2 separate regions of the Homo sapiens genome follow, and region 2 is linked to region 1. The links are contacts of gene promoters, found by promoter capture Hi-C in blood cells and fetal thymus (Javierre and others, 2016). All regions are on one chromosome and are shown on one strand. The core of a region is centred on a gene start or on the middle of the fragment in contact, and the rest is flanking DNA. Distances in the headings are between cores, read along the strand shown.

Region 1 (7,105 bases), core at 1-2,500:
TCATTGCAATTGTTTTTGAATGCATTCCATTTATGTATTAGTAAAATGTATTATTAAGGAAAGACAAATTAAGTCAGATATTTGGATTAATCATTGAGTCTATCATTTTAGTAAAAAGCAAGGAACTTTCCTTCAGGACTAATATATTAAATAGGCCAAAACACTGACTTGTCATTTAAAAATTTTTTAAGGTCACTTCATAAGTATAAAAAACTCATGCATGGTCGGGCGCGGTGGCTCACGGCTGTAACCCCAGCACTTTGGGAGACCCAGGAGGGCGGATCACCTGAAGTCAGGAGTTCGAGACCAGCCTGGCCAAAATGGGGAAACCCCATCTCTACTAAAAATACAAAAATTAGCCAGGCGTGGTGGCGCGTGCCTGCAGTCCCAGCTACTCGGGAGGCTGAGGCAGGAAAATTGCTTGAACCCAGGAGGCAGAGGTTGCAGTGAGCCGAGAGCGCGACACTGCACTCCAGCCTGGGCGACAGAGGAGACTCCATCTCAGAAAAAAAAAAAAAAAAAAAAAAAAAAAAAAAAAAAAAAGGCATGCCTAATAGTATTTATAAAATACTCGCATACATTTTACATGTTAATATTATTACGAAATAAAGTAACGTTTATATAATTATTTCAATAGCTATTCCTATTTAAGTAATAATTGGGTAAATTTAACAGCAAATACAAGAAAAAACTGCATGGCAAGCTATTTTCCTTAAAACATGATTCTGAACACTAAACGTTACAAAAACAGATACTTGCTACAACTGTGAAGGAGAAACTGCATTTCCCTATTATTACAAGAACAAAGGTTTTCACAAAAAAATTTAAGGACTCTACAGCCGCCTTGTTCTTTGTTATCCCACCCCTGCCCGCCTCGGCTAACGGTTTTGGGGCCCGTTTGCTTGGTGCGTCTGGAACTCCTCGGGCGGCGGGCGTCTCGCAGGAAAAACCGCGGCCCGTACTGCGCCGGGAGCAGAAGCGCTGGTGGCCCTCGTAGGTCCCGTGGGCTGCCTCCCCCTCCTGCAGACACTCGAGGAGCCATCCGGCCGCGTCTCTCGCCGCCCGGCCCCGCCACTAGGCTGCCGCCTCCGCCGCTGCACAGAGAAGGGCGAAGACCCGCCCCTGCAGGTGATTGACGGGCACTCTCCTCCAATGGTCAACGCGCTCGGCCCCGGCGGGCTGGGCAAGGGCCGCGGCTCGCGGAGGAATCTCTCTTGCCCTTTAGTCCCGGGCAAGGTGTTGCGGCCGGCGCCATTTTCTCGAGCCGCCTGTTTCGGGTGCCGCCATGTTGGTGAGGAGAAATCACCGTTACGGCCACTGTCCAAATCCCCGCGTCGCTGCACGCCGCCCGCCCGCTCCCACGCCACAGCCACCGGCGGCGAATAGAGACTAGAGCGGCAGCGCCGGCAGCGCGGGGCCGTTGCCCAGTGTTTGCAGTTAGAGCCCCATCTCTCTGGCGTGGTTGTTAATAGACTGGAAAGTCTGTGTCTGTGTCGCTCACTAGTAACCGTGAGTTTTTACCACTTCGTCACCTGTCGGCGGCGGCCGGGAGCAGGTTCCCGCAGGCGGCGCGGGGGGTCTTCCCCGCGCCCCGCCGCCGCCGGCCTCGCAGACCTGCCCTCCAGCCCCGCCCCGTTCTTGACCAAACATGACAGACTCTGAACATGCAGGGCACGACAGGTCGGGAACCCTTCTTGTCTGTCTTTCTGTCGGATGAGAGGAGGGGTCTGGGGCGGCGGGAGCGGGCCGGGGCCGGGCGCCTCCTGCATGACCTAGACGTCTCTGTGTGGCTCCGTCAGTTCCATGACGCGCACTCTTATGTAAACTGCTGGATCGCGGCCGCGGGGGAGGTCGGCCCGGCCGCGCCCGCCTCCCCGAGCCGGGGTCGCTGCTCGCCAGCGCCGGCCCCGCCCCCGGCCGGGCACGTGCGAGCCCCCCGCCCCCCGGGCGGGCTCCGTGTGCGCCGGGCGGCTCTCAGCGTCCCGGCTCGGTGCTGAGGTCCTGCTTCTGCCCGTCCAGGTGTCGGTGCTCCCGGCCAGATAGGACCAGCCAGGAATTTTCAGGAATGGGTGTTTTGATATTTGACTGCTTCCCGAGAACCGAGAACACCTCTAAAAAAATAAACATTTGGTTTTCAGGGAAGTTTTAAGCAGCACCAAAAGGCCATCTGTTGTATACAGTCTTATCCCTTGGAATTTGAGATGGCAAGTTTCAAGTTTAATATGTTAACACAAAATACTTAGGCTTTGCAGAAACTTAGTTTAGCACAGTTTTACCCTAACGTAAAAACTCCATGGATTATTCCGGCTAGCCCAATTTTCTAGATGGTGTGTATCACTTGAATATTGAGATTCTGATTTTTTATTTTTTGCTCTGTGCCTTAAGAGGCACATTCTTGTTTCCATTCGAGTTTGGGGACATTTACAAAGTATACTGTAGCATACTTAAATTTTGGTTATAATTCAAATTTTCATTCGTATATATCTTTAATAATGCGAAAGGGGGGCTTTCATTCATTAAACTTACTGAAACAAAATCCATTGCATCTGATTCTTACTTAGAATATTAATTTGAAAATCTAGAACCTCACAATTACTCCTTTGTGAATAGAAGTAAGAAAAAATATACGTTTTACTATAGACTATATACATTGCTGAAGTTTTATCTGTAGTAATGTGATCGGCTTGGTAAAGCATCCTAAACACGTTTTTTAAAACCCAGAAGCAAAAATCACAAACACTGCTGAAATTTGAAATATCTAAATACCTAGCAATCTTGAGAGGGATAAAAATGGTATTTCAACAACTTCAGTATTGTAATAATAAAAGTAGATTCCCAGAGGGCACGTCAATCAAAGTGTAAAAATTTTTGGAAAGTAAAATGCACTTTTAAAAATGATAAGCTTGCACTTGGCACATTTTTAATGATTTTTTTAACGTTATCTTTTGTATTAAAAAGGAAATTCTTAGAATGGGTTGACTAATACCTTGCTCTTGAGGTATGGACAAACCAATGATGGGGTTTTGCTAATGGAGCCTAAAATCCTTTTTTTTTTTAATATGGAAGAATATCTGTTCCCCTCTCTTAGTGCACAAAGTAACTTCTATATATGGAGTTATGTATTGTACATCATGAAAAAACAATGCCATCAAATTCAAGTATCAAAATAATTTTGCTGGTAAGGAACTGTGATGACAGACCTTTTAAAGAATTTGAAATTTTAAAATACTGGTTTAGAGGTTAGAAAACTTTAAAGAATTATTTGTAAGATATGTTAATAGGTTGGTAGTAGGAGCTAAAGATTAAGATTAGTCTATTTTATTTAAAATTCGGACTAAAAGTATTTTCTAGTGATTTCTGAAACAAAAAGGTTAGCTCCACTTTAACTTAGCCAATTGTTAAGTGGCATCATTGTGCTGAGATGAAGGAGATGGTTTTTTTTTTTCATGCTTTTTTTGTCAACCCACATGAAAAACAAAACAACTACATCAAAAACAAAGTGAACTAGAAGTCAGGAGAAATTCTACAAGATCAGATCAATGGTTCTAAACCTTCCCTGGGGAACTTTTTTTCTTTAAAGTATTGGCGCTATTTCTGTTGGTCTGGACCTCAGCCTGGGTTTTAAGAGTTCTAAAAGCTCCCCAGGAAATTCTAATATGTGCCAAATTGAGAACCGCTATACTCGATCAGTGTTTCCCAATGATAGTTAATCATCAGAATCACTTTGGGGAATAAATTTTTGTTCTGCCCAGAGCAACTGAATCAGAATCTCTAGGGTATTTTTCATAGGCTCCCTGGGAAATTCTTAAGAAATTTGGGGAAAAAATGGACTAATCTGCGGGCTTCCAAAATACTGTATCTTTCCATATAATAGCTATTTTATGCTGTTATAAAAGTTTCTGTGAATTAAGTGGAGAAAAATATATGAAACTTGGTATATGGAGCTAGGCTTTGTCTCAAGGATTTTATTTTATTTATTTTATTTTTTTGAGACGGAGTCTCGCTCTGTCGCCCAGGCTGGAGTGCAGTGGCACTGTCTCAGCTCACTGCAAGCTCCACTTCCCGCCTTCACACCATTCTCCTGCCTCAGCCTCCTGAGTAGCTGGGATTACAGGCACCCGCCACCACACCTGGCTAATTTTTTGTATTTTTAGTAGAGACCACGTTTCATCATGTTGGACAGGCTGGTCTTGAACTCCTGACCTCAAGTGATCCACCAGCCTTGGCCTCCCAAAGTTTTGGGATTACAGGGGTGAGCCACTGTGCCCAGCCAAGGATATTCTTTTTATAACATTTTCAAAAATTAAGGCATATTGTGTATGCAGGAAAAAAAATGAAGCCTATGATTTATATTTACAATTGCTTTGATTTTATACAAATTAAAATATTACTGTTTATGAGAATGAGATTCTAAATGTAAATGGAATTCACAGAATGCATAATTTTTTTCTCGTTTAAAGAAATAGAGTCTCGCTATATGCCTAGGCTGGTCTTGAACTCCTGGGCTCCAGCCATCCTCCCATTTCAGCCTCCCAGAGTGTTGGGATTACAGGCGTGAGCCACCACGCCTGGCCTTGTACATGTTATATAGTGAACATTTTGCACAAGATTGTTTGCCAAATGAATAATTTAAAAAAAATCCATTTAGTGTACTTTCCTTTAAATATTTTCACACCTGGAGTTAAAACATTGTATTTTATAAGATGTTATTAATATAAAAATACTTCTAATTCTACTTGTGGCTATGTAGAATGTAGTAGAGGACTTTTGCATAAGCCCAGAGCCTAGTTTCTAAAGGTCTTTAGGGATTTAGGGAAATCAGAGGGAGGTATAATTCTGGTCTCTCGTCGTTCAGTTCTTTTTCATTCAGTTCTCTCAGGCACGACTCCAGCCGCTCAGTTTTATATTTCAACTGGATGTTGACCCAATTAAAACAATTCACAACTCCTGAAGACGAAATACTATGAGTCCCTGCTTTGGACACATCTGTAGTAGAGTAGGAAAAGATAAATATAACCCAAGTAATTGTTACAGAATTTTCTGAAATATACTAATGGTAAAAGGTTTTGTAGGGCTTGTACTGGGGAAAAAGATAATTTTTTAGCATGAACCTTTTAAGAGCTTGTGAGTCTCAAAGAGTCTTTAACTGATAGGTGATATGGATAATACTCCCCTTTGGGAGGAGGTTTATAATACATAAACAACCTCCCCACCCTTCCCTCGCAGCTTTCTGTCCTGTACTACAAGAACAACAAAACTCCAACTAGTCAGAATTGCAAGTGGTTTATGGCCCCCCATATAGATTGAAAACTTGCTAAGAGACTGCACTGGAGAACCTGAAAGGATGAGGATGGAAAAGATGATTATACTTTTCATTTGCAACAGGGCTTTCATTTGATTCTCACATTAATCCCATGTGGTAGTTAATTAAGGTAGCATTACAAGGTTCAGTGAATTGTCTGAGATCTCATAAATACAACCTAGATAAGAACCCAGGTATTATTATTTTCAGTCTTGCAATATTATTTTCCTACTTGCAATATTATCTTCACTCTTCATTAAGTTTGCACAGCAAAGTAATGGAATAAGTTCTGGGCTTTAATCCTTGAGTAGTTTGGAATTGTAATGTGCTACATTTGAGAGAGAGCCCTTCATTTTGAATAAAACCTTGGTACTGATCCTGATCTTCTAACTTGGGTTAATGCTCTTCCCCTTTTCATTATTTTTTTCATTTGTGAAATGAAGTAGTTGCACTAGATCATTTTCAATTTTCCTTCCCACTTAAATCAATTTTAATTAAAAAAATTGCAGATGCCTTTTCTCAGATTAGAGTACACTTTTTGCTCCACACAATATCTGGTTTGTAAATTAGTATGTTCCGTGGAGTAAATAACTTTCCTGACTAGCCATTAACTTACTTCTGATTCCTGAATCCACTAATTTAACTATTGTTGAAATTACTAAAGGAAATTTTTCTTTAGCAAATGTAAAACCTCGTATCAGGTCTCAGGTTTGATGTTGTAAAGCACTCTGACTCTCAGGAAGACTCTTTTTTTCCCCCAACCTCTCATAAACAAATATTTCATTCATTATAAAATTTCATTCATTACATTTTCATTCCTCAGACTTAACAGTGTTTCGTCTCTGCTAAGTATAGTGTTAAGCACTGACAAAAGAACTCTGGACACAACATCATGAACTTGCTCTCTGGGATCTTATAATCTAGTTGCAGAAACAGATTGGTAAATACATAGTATAGCACAAGTACTATAATGGAGGCCTGAACTGAGTGCTGTGGGGGTACACAGATGAAGGCTTCTGGGAGACATCATGGCATAACTAGACCTGGAGGATGAATAAAACTTTGGCCAAGTAAATACAGAGATACACGAAAAGCATGGATAAATGGCACAAGTAGGTTCAGGGATGATAAAAGTGTTAGTATGTGGAGAGTGTACAACTATTTTGGGGAATGGGGAAACGGATTAAATTTGGGGCCAGACCCTGAAGGATGTGGGGATCCCATCAAAGTCTTTTAAGCAGGAGAATGATCAGATGCATTTTTTGGTATACTACCTGGGGGATAGGAGGAAATGGACTACAGAAGGGGAGATCAGTAGAAGGAAGACAAGTTAGGAAGCTTTTCAGTCATTTTCATTAAACATGAAGCTTAATATGTATTGTTCTAGGATCAGGAATACAGCAATAAAGAAAAAACTTGGTGTAATGAAACATATTTTCTTGGGAGAGACAGAAAATAAACATGAAAAACAGATGTGTTCAATGGTGATAAAGCAGAAAGGGAGATGGGGAGTCAAGTGGATGTGGGGAGGGTGTTTAGGGAAGCACTTATGAAAGAGTAACATTTGAGCAAAGAGCCCTGATACAAGACAACAATTCAGACCCAAGACATTTGAGGAAAGAGCATCCATATAAAGGGAGTGGGAGGTAGAGAAAGCCTGGACCAGGAATGAGCCTGGTATGATTGAGGAAAACACAAGGGATTTCACTCTTGAGTGACCTGGGAGCTAATGGGGGATTAAACAGAGGAGGGACAGGATCCTCTATGGTATATGGTAAGTGAGTAGTATGGTAAATGAGGTAA
Region 2 (6,464 bases), core at 2,113-4,612, 40 kb after region 1:
AAATTGCTAAGTTTAAAAGCAAAAATATATCCTCTATTAGTCTTCTTTTGTGCTTTTCTTTCCTAGGAATCATCTTCCCCAGATGTAACTGGCAATGAAGTGCTAATAGCTCAATATGTAGGGGGGACAAGAAGGGAGGCAGTGGTAAATTAACTTCCTTTTTAGAGTTGAAAAGATTGAAAGAGAAGAAAGGGGGATATAAATGGTTGGAAAGGTGAACTTATGTATGTTACATGTTGTAGATATTCAATAAATATATGTCAAATTGAGTTGAACTCTGAACATGAACTTTTAACCTTGTAGTGACTCCCTGGATTACTGTGGTCCAATTCCTGTGTTCTACTACTGTTCTAGTAAGATTTGATTGAATTATAGAGGCAATAGTGGGTCATTAAAAGCTGGAGCTTTGGCTGGGCACAGTGGCTCACGCCCGTAATCCCAGCACTTTGGGAGGCCAAGTCGGACAGATCCTGAGGTCAGGAGTTCAAGACCAGCCTGGCCAACATGGAGAAACCCCATCTCTACAAAAATACAAGAATTTGTCGGATGTGGTGGTGCACATCTGTAGTCCCAGCTACTCGGGAGGCTGAGGCAGAAGAGTCGCTTGAACCCAGGAGGCGGAGGTTGCAGTGAGCCAAGATGGCTCCACTACACTCCAGCCTGGGTGACAGAGCGAGACTCCATCTCAAAATAAAAAAAAAAAAAAAGCTGCAACTTTGTGTGAGAGCTGAGAGGGATAGCTATATACTATAATTTGAAAATGCTTGGTTTTCTGATCTCTCAGTTTAAAGATAGTGGGCAGAGATTTCTTAATATGCACTCCTTAGTATACTGTTTCAGGAGATGTTAACAGGTGTGACCTAAAAAAAGAAGGTCAGACCCAAATAAATTTGCGAAACCCAGCACATGCCATCTGCTTTTGGAGATTCTCAGTTGACATTAATGTAGTAAAGCTTGTGAGCAGCTTAGGCAAAAAGAAGCTTATTTTGTTCAACCCATCATTTACTCAACTACAAACTATTTTTTTCCCTACACACCTACTAACATTCACTGAGCCACTCACTGTTCCATGGAACAGCAGCTTTGGAATTACTATGGTTATTATTTTAGAATTTTGGGGTGACTAAAAACCTGCCTGTCATCTTCTTAGACACCAGTAGACCTTTAGAATATGCTGATTTCCCTAACCCAAACTAATACAAATGCTTTCTAAGTAAGCCTGCACCTATACCCAGTTCTTACACCCTATACCTTTAAACAAAATTAGCTTCCAGGAAAGTGTGACTTTGAGCAAGTTATACCTGTCTCTTTGCCTCAATTTGCTTAATCTGCAAAATGAGGGTATAGTATTAAGTTAACTCTAAGGGCCCCATCAAGCACAGCATTTTAGATGTCTGTAGATCTGGGCTATACCTAAAAGATAATCATATAACAGAAAAATAAAGATAAAAATACATTATCAGTCATGTCAATTTATTGGCTATCACGAGAGACATTTCTTATGATTCCAGAAACAACTGGGAGTGTGCCAGAGCCCACGGAAGCAGTTCATGTTCAGGAATGGTCTGCAGGTGGCCCATCCAGAATAGCATGAACATGGAGGCCACAGCAGAGTGGCCAAGATAGATCCGTCTCTGTCCTAGGCCTTTCAGAGACTATGAGAGTCTCCAAAGCCAAATCAATTCGGGGTACCTTCAGATTCATCATAATTTTTTTGAAAAATCAAGAGTAGTCACAAAGAAGCAAACTTTCACTGAATTTTAAAGGCTTCTTCATTTTATTGGCCATAATACTCTTAAATTGTTTTAGTATTTACTGTACCTATTACATTTTTTTGTAATAAATATTATTTTCCTGGTAGATCCTTACATTTCCTCTACCTGATATATATTAATATTTTATGCTCTTGTCTCTTGTATCAATATATCTTCTAAAGTAAATAAGTTTTAAAATGACCAAGTACAGTAGGTAGCTTGGTTTTTTTTCTCCCTCCATCTCTCCCTCTTTCTCTCCTTCATTCTTGTATTTTTTTTTATTCGCAGTACTGTCTTGTAATGCAAAGAATATAGGAGGAGTTGCAAGGCACAATTCCTGAGTTCTGTCAGTCTGCTAACTCACCATATCTTCTGGGCACTTAATTTTGCCCTAAAAATTTATTTGTTAAAGTTGCTTTAGATTTTCTATAGTACCTTGATTATAGTCAGGTTTCCCATAGCTGTGGACACTGACATACTTTCTACTCATTTAAGTGGAACTAAACTAAAAAACAAAACAAAACACTTCCTCACCACAATCCTCTATTAAAACAATGAAACATTATTTGGAAGTAATGTATACAGAAAGAGTAAGTTATTAATGAAACGCTAAGTACAACTTGTTGCATTTTTCAGGGTGTGTGTGTGTGTGTGATTACCTAATTTTTTTACTTTTTAATTTCAGAGTTATATTCCTCAGGTTGCTCATTGATTTTTGCATAATTTACTTTCTTTGGCTGTTTATTTTATTTTATAACAGCCATGATTCTTTGTATAGAATGCCTATGTGAGCTGGTCATTTATATCTGCTTATTCTAAACGAATCTCTAAACATAAAAATGTTTGTGAATCAAATTTATATAGATTTGAGACACTTTAAATGATTCTGTCATAGTATATTATAAGCAATTTCATTGTGTTTTCCTGGGGTAAATTAGGTATGTTTATATTTTTAAAACGAATCTCTAGGATTATCTGTTTACTTTGTATTCTTGTACCTTTTTTAGAATTCTTACAGTAAAATGTGATTTGAGCTGTGAATGCTGGGGATCAGATTTCAATTTAGACATCTATTGCCTCAATGTTTGCTGTGAGGCAATCTCTTGTTTTCAGTAGATTGAACTTTATGCTCTATCTTTTAGCAAATTAAGAGAAAAGGGAAAACAGAAATCAAATCAGAAGAGTAAATAGTCATTGAACTCCTATGATATACAGGGCACAGTGCATGCCAGGTGCATGAAAAATAATGTTGTTTTTTAGAGTTGATGAATGTAACTCATTACATTTAGCATGGCTAAGCATCATACTCTGCCTTGTTACTTAATCTTATACTTAAAGCAGAAGTTGAATAGGGGACTCAGGAGAAGTAAGGAAAACAAGTAGGGCTATAAGATTTCTTTTCCTTTAATTTTCTTAAGTTTTTTTCTTAACTTTTTATATTTAAAAGTTAAAAGTAATACACGCCGCCTGTTTGTTTGCCCTTTTTTTCCCCTAAAGAAAGTACAAAATAACCACACACATAAAATCTCTAATCCTGCCATCCAGAGACATACACTGTAAAATATGGGGGTATATTCTTTTTGTCTTTTTTCCTTTGCCTTTATTTATTATTGTAGAATTGGGATCAATTTTTTACTTCATAAAATATTGTAAACTTTTTTTTTGTTTTTTTTTTGTTTGTTTGTTTGAGACACTCTCACTCTGTTGCCCAGGCAGGAATGCAGTGGCGTGATCTTGGCTCTCACTGCAGGCTCCACCTCCCAGGTTCAAGCGATTCTCGTGCCTCAGCCTCCCAAGTAGCTGAGATTACAGAGGTGTGTGCCACCACACCTGGCTAATTTTTTGTATTTTTAGTATGGACAGGATTTCACTATGTTGGCCAGGCTGGTCTCAAACTCCTGGCCTCAAATGATCCCAAAGTGCTGGGATTACAGGCATGAGCCACCATGCCTGATCTGTAAACAGTTTTTATGATCCAAAGTTGTTGATTTTTTAATGACTGCATAATATTCTACCACCTAAGTGTATCATAATATATTTGACCAGTCTTCTAGTTTTAAATGTGTAGAGTGTTTCTCGTTTTGCTGTTTGTTTTACTATGTCAGTATTTTATTATATGACTAGATCTTTGTGTCTCCCTGATAATTCTTTCAAAATAATCCCAAAAAGTACAAGTTGTATGTCAAACAATATGGATATTTTAAAGTCTTTTATAACATACCTATCAATAATATGAGTGCATATTTTATTGTGTCTTTGCCCAAATTGAGAATTGTGAATTTTTAAACTTTTTATAATTTTATTTAAAAAGTTATTCATCTTCATTAAAATAGAAAGAAATAGGCTTTTTTTTGCGATCACTAGTAGCATAAGTAGATTACTAGACACATATCTCTCTCCAAATAAATGAATAGCATCAGAATGTTCAATCTTGATCACTTTTTGTAGTCAATTTGTACTTTTTTCCAGATCAACTTAATCATACATTTTGATACCTATTAATATTTCATATGCTGCATTCAAATGGAATTTTTTTCTTGCAGTATAATAAACCAGGGAAAAAATGGAAGGTTATGACTCAGGAATTTATTAATCAGCACACAGTGGAACACAAAGGAAAACAAATCTGTAAATACTTCCTGGAAGGGAGGTGTATTAAGGTAAATTTATAGAGGTATCATAAGTCATTTTAACTTCCAAAATAATCTTTAAAATTAAAGTCTTTTGGGGGATGGTTAATTTTTTTCTCTTCTCATATAGTTGTAATAAAACTGGGTCTTTAAAATGTATCTTGCATGGAAATACCGTACATTAGAGCTCATTTAATTATGTTCTGGGACAATAACATAATTTGTTGAAATCGGATTTGTTTAAAAGACACATAATGCTACGTGGCAAGTACTGTTCAAAGTACAACTAATATTAAATGATTTAATCCTACAGTGACCCTACAAAGTAGTTAATGTTATTATCCCCATTTTATTCATGGCACCAAGAGGTTAAGTAAGTTCCCATGGTAGCTCAGCAAGAAATGGTGAGTGCTGGTTGCCAATTCAGGCAGTATCCTGTGAGGTCTTGCTCACTGTGCTGCCTTAATGCATGTAGCTACATCCACTGTCTTGGGCAGGAATTCTAAGGGGTCATTTGAGTTATTATTTGTTCATTATTAAAGACTGAAGATAATGACCATAATTTTACCATGAGACACCATGTAGAAAATTCAGCTGTTGTTTCTTTGTTTCTCATTGTTTCTTACCTTTTTTTCTTTTTTCTTTTTTTTTTTTTTGTGAATAGGGAGATCAGTGTAAATTTGATCATGATGCAGAGTTGGAGAAAAGAAAAGAGATCTGCAAATTTTATTTACAAGGATATTGTACCAAAGGAGAGAACTGCATTTATATGCATAATATCCTTTATTTAAAATGTATGTTAAATAAAATGCTGGGGTTTTAAAGCATCATTGAGGTTTTAAAAAATAATAAATACACCCTATAAAGCCTAGTTTGGTTTTAAATTTAAAACAACACATTACATAAACCCAGTCTAGTCAAACTTTGTACTTCAAAAGAGCAAACTGACCTTTATTCTTTAGGGAAATGAGATAACTGCCCTTTGGAAAAAATTCTGTGAAGGGAAGGTACTTTAATATAATCAGCTTAAAGTATTTCAAGAGATTGTGCTTCCTGAAGGAGTAGTTGGCAAAATACTTATTTTATTCCATAATTATTTTACTTAAGTTCGGGAGTAAAAAATTATCATTGTGAAGATTATAAGTCTTATCAAATCTTACCACTCAATGATAGATGCTGTATATTCTTCCCCACTCTCCCTTGGGAAATATATACATTTAAATTGTATTCCTGCTCCTACCCAAATTGGAATTTCACTATATATAGTGTTCTGGTCCTTTAAAAAAATGTATTCTGCAATTTTTCCATGTTAATTTTCCCCCAAATATCTGTCAGGTTGCTCACTACGACTTATGACTAATGAAGCTTTCCCCCACAGAATTGAAACTCTATCACAGACAAAATGTTTACATATATGGATTTTTCTTCTGGACTTCGTGTTTGGCTCCATGGATTTGTTCACCCTCATGTCTGTCTTGCTTTGCTGTGATTATTTCTGCCACAACAGCCACGGTAATATTTGGTAGATTCTGATGTTTATTTTTCCAGATAAATTTTTAAATTCTGTTGTCGTGTTTAAAAAATGTGAAAAAAAAGAAAGTGAATAAAATGAAAAATGCCTGTTATCATAGATCAAAATGTCAAAAAATGGAACGATGTAATTACCAGAGGAATACATGATGAATTGGAACAGAAAAATTTCCTGTCTCAAAATCCAGAAGCAAAAAGGGAACAGATTGAAATTTTGACTCCATGAAAAAGCTTGCATTTGCAAAACAAATACATATAACATGAGCTAAATAATAAGATAAATAATGAAGTGAGAAAGATTATGTGTAATTTATATCACTTACGAAGAGGTCATATCCTTAATATATGAGTTTCTAAACATTGAGAAGAAAAATGAGGGAAGAGATACAGATAATTCCCAGAAAGAGAAATGCAAATGGTCCCAAAACATACAGAAAGATGTTCAATCTTGTTCCTAATAAGGGGAATGTAATTTAAGCTACACTGAGATAACATTTGCAGCTGTGTCACGTTTGCAAAAATAAAAAAATCGTGACAGTGAAGTTTGTTA

Evidence for each region. The method cuts DNA at HindIII sites, captures the fragments that hold promoters and counts their contacts. A CHiCAGO score of 5 or more calls a contact.
Region 2: a contact is called between a fragment that was not itself captured here and the fragment with the promoter of ZC3H6 in region 1, in 1 of 17 cell types (naive CD4 T cells). The highest score is 5.2, in naive CD4 T cells.

Annotation. Positions count from the first base shown.
Region 1 is chr2:112,274,347-112,281,451 of GRCh38, forward strand. It overlaps ZC3H6 (zinc finger CCCH-type containing 6), which reads left to right and starts at 1,251. Exons shown (of 12, transcript NM_198581.3): 1 at 1,251-1,680. The coding sequence starts at 1,649. RefSeq lists enhancers at 953-1,525, 1,141-1,350 and a silencer at 1,541-2,020. The HindIII fragment of the contact is 12,828 bases long and covers 1-2,900 here.
Region 2 is chr2:112,312,173-112,318,636 of GRCh38, forward strand. It overlaps ZC3H6 (zinc finger CCCH-type containing 6), which reads left to right. Exons shown (of 12, transcript NM_198581.3): 6 at 4,298-4,414; 7 at 5,049-5,160. Among named protein-coding and RNA genes, the nearest start is that of ZC3H6, 40 kb to the left of the region's middle. The HindIII fragment of the contact is 4,769 bases long and covers 979-5,747 here.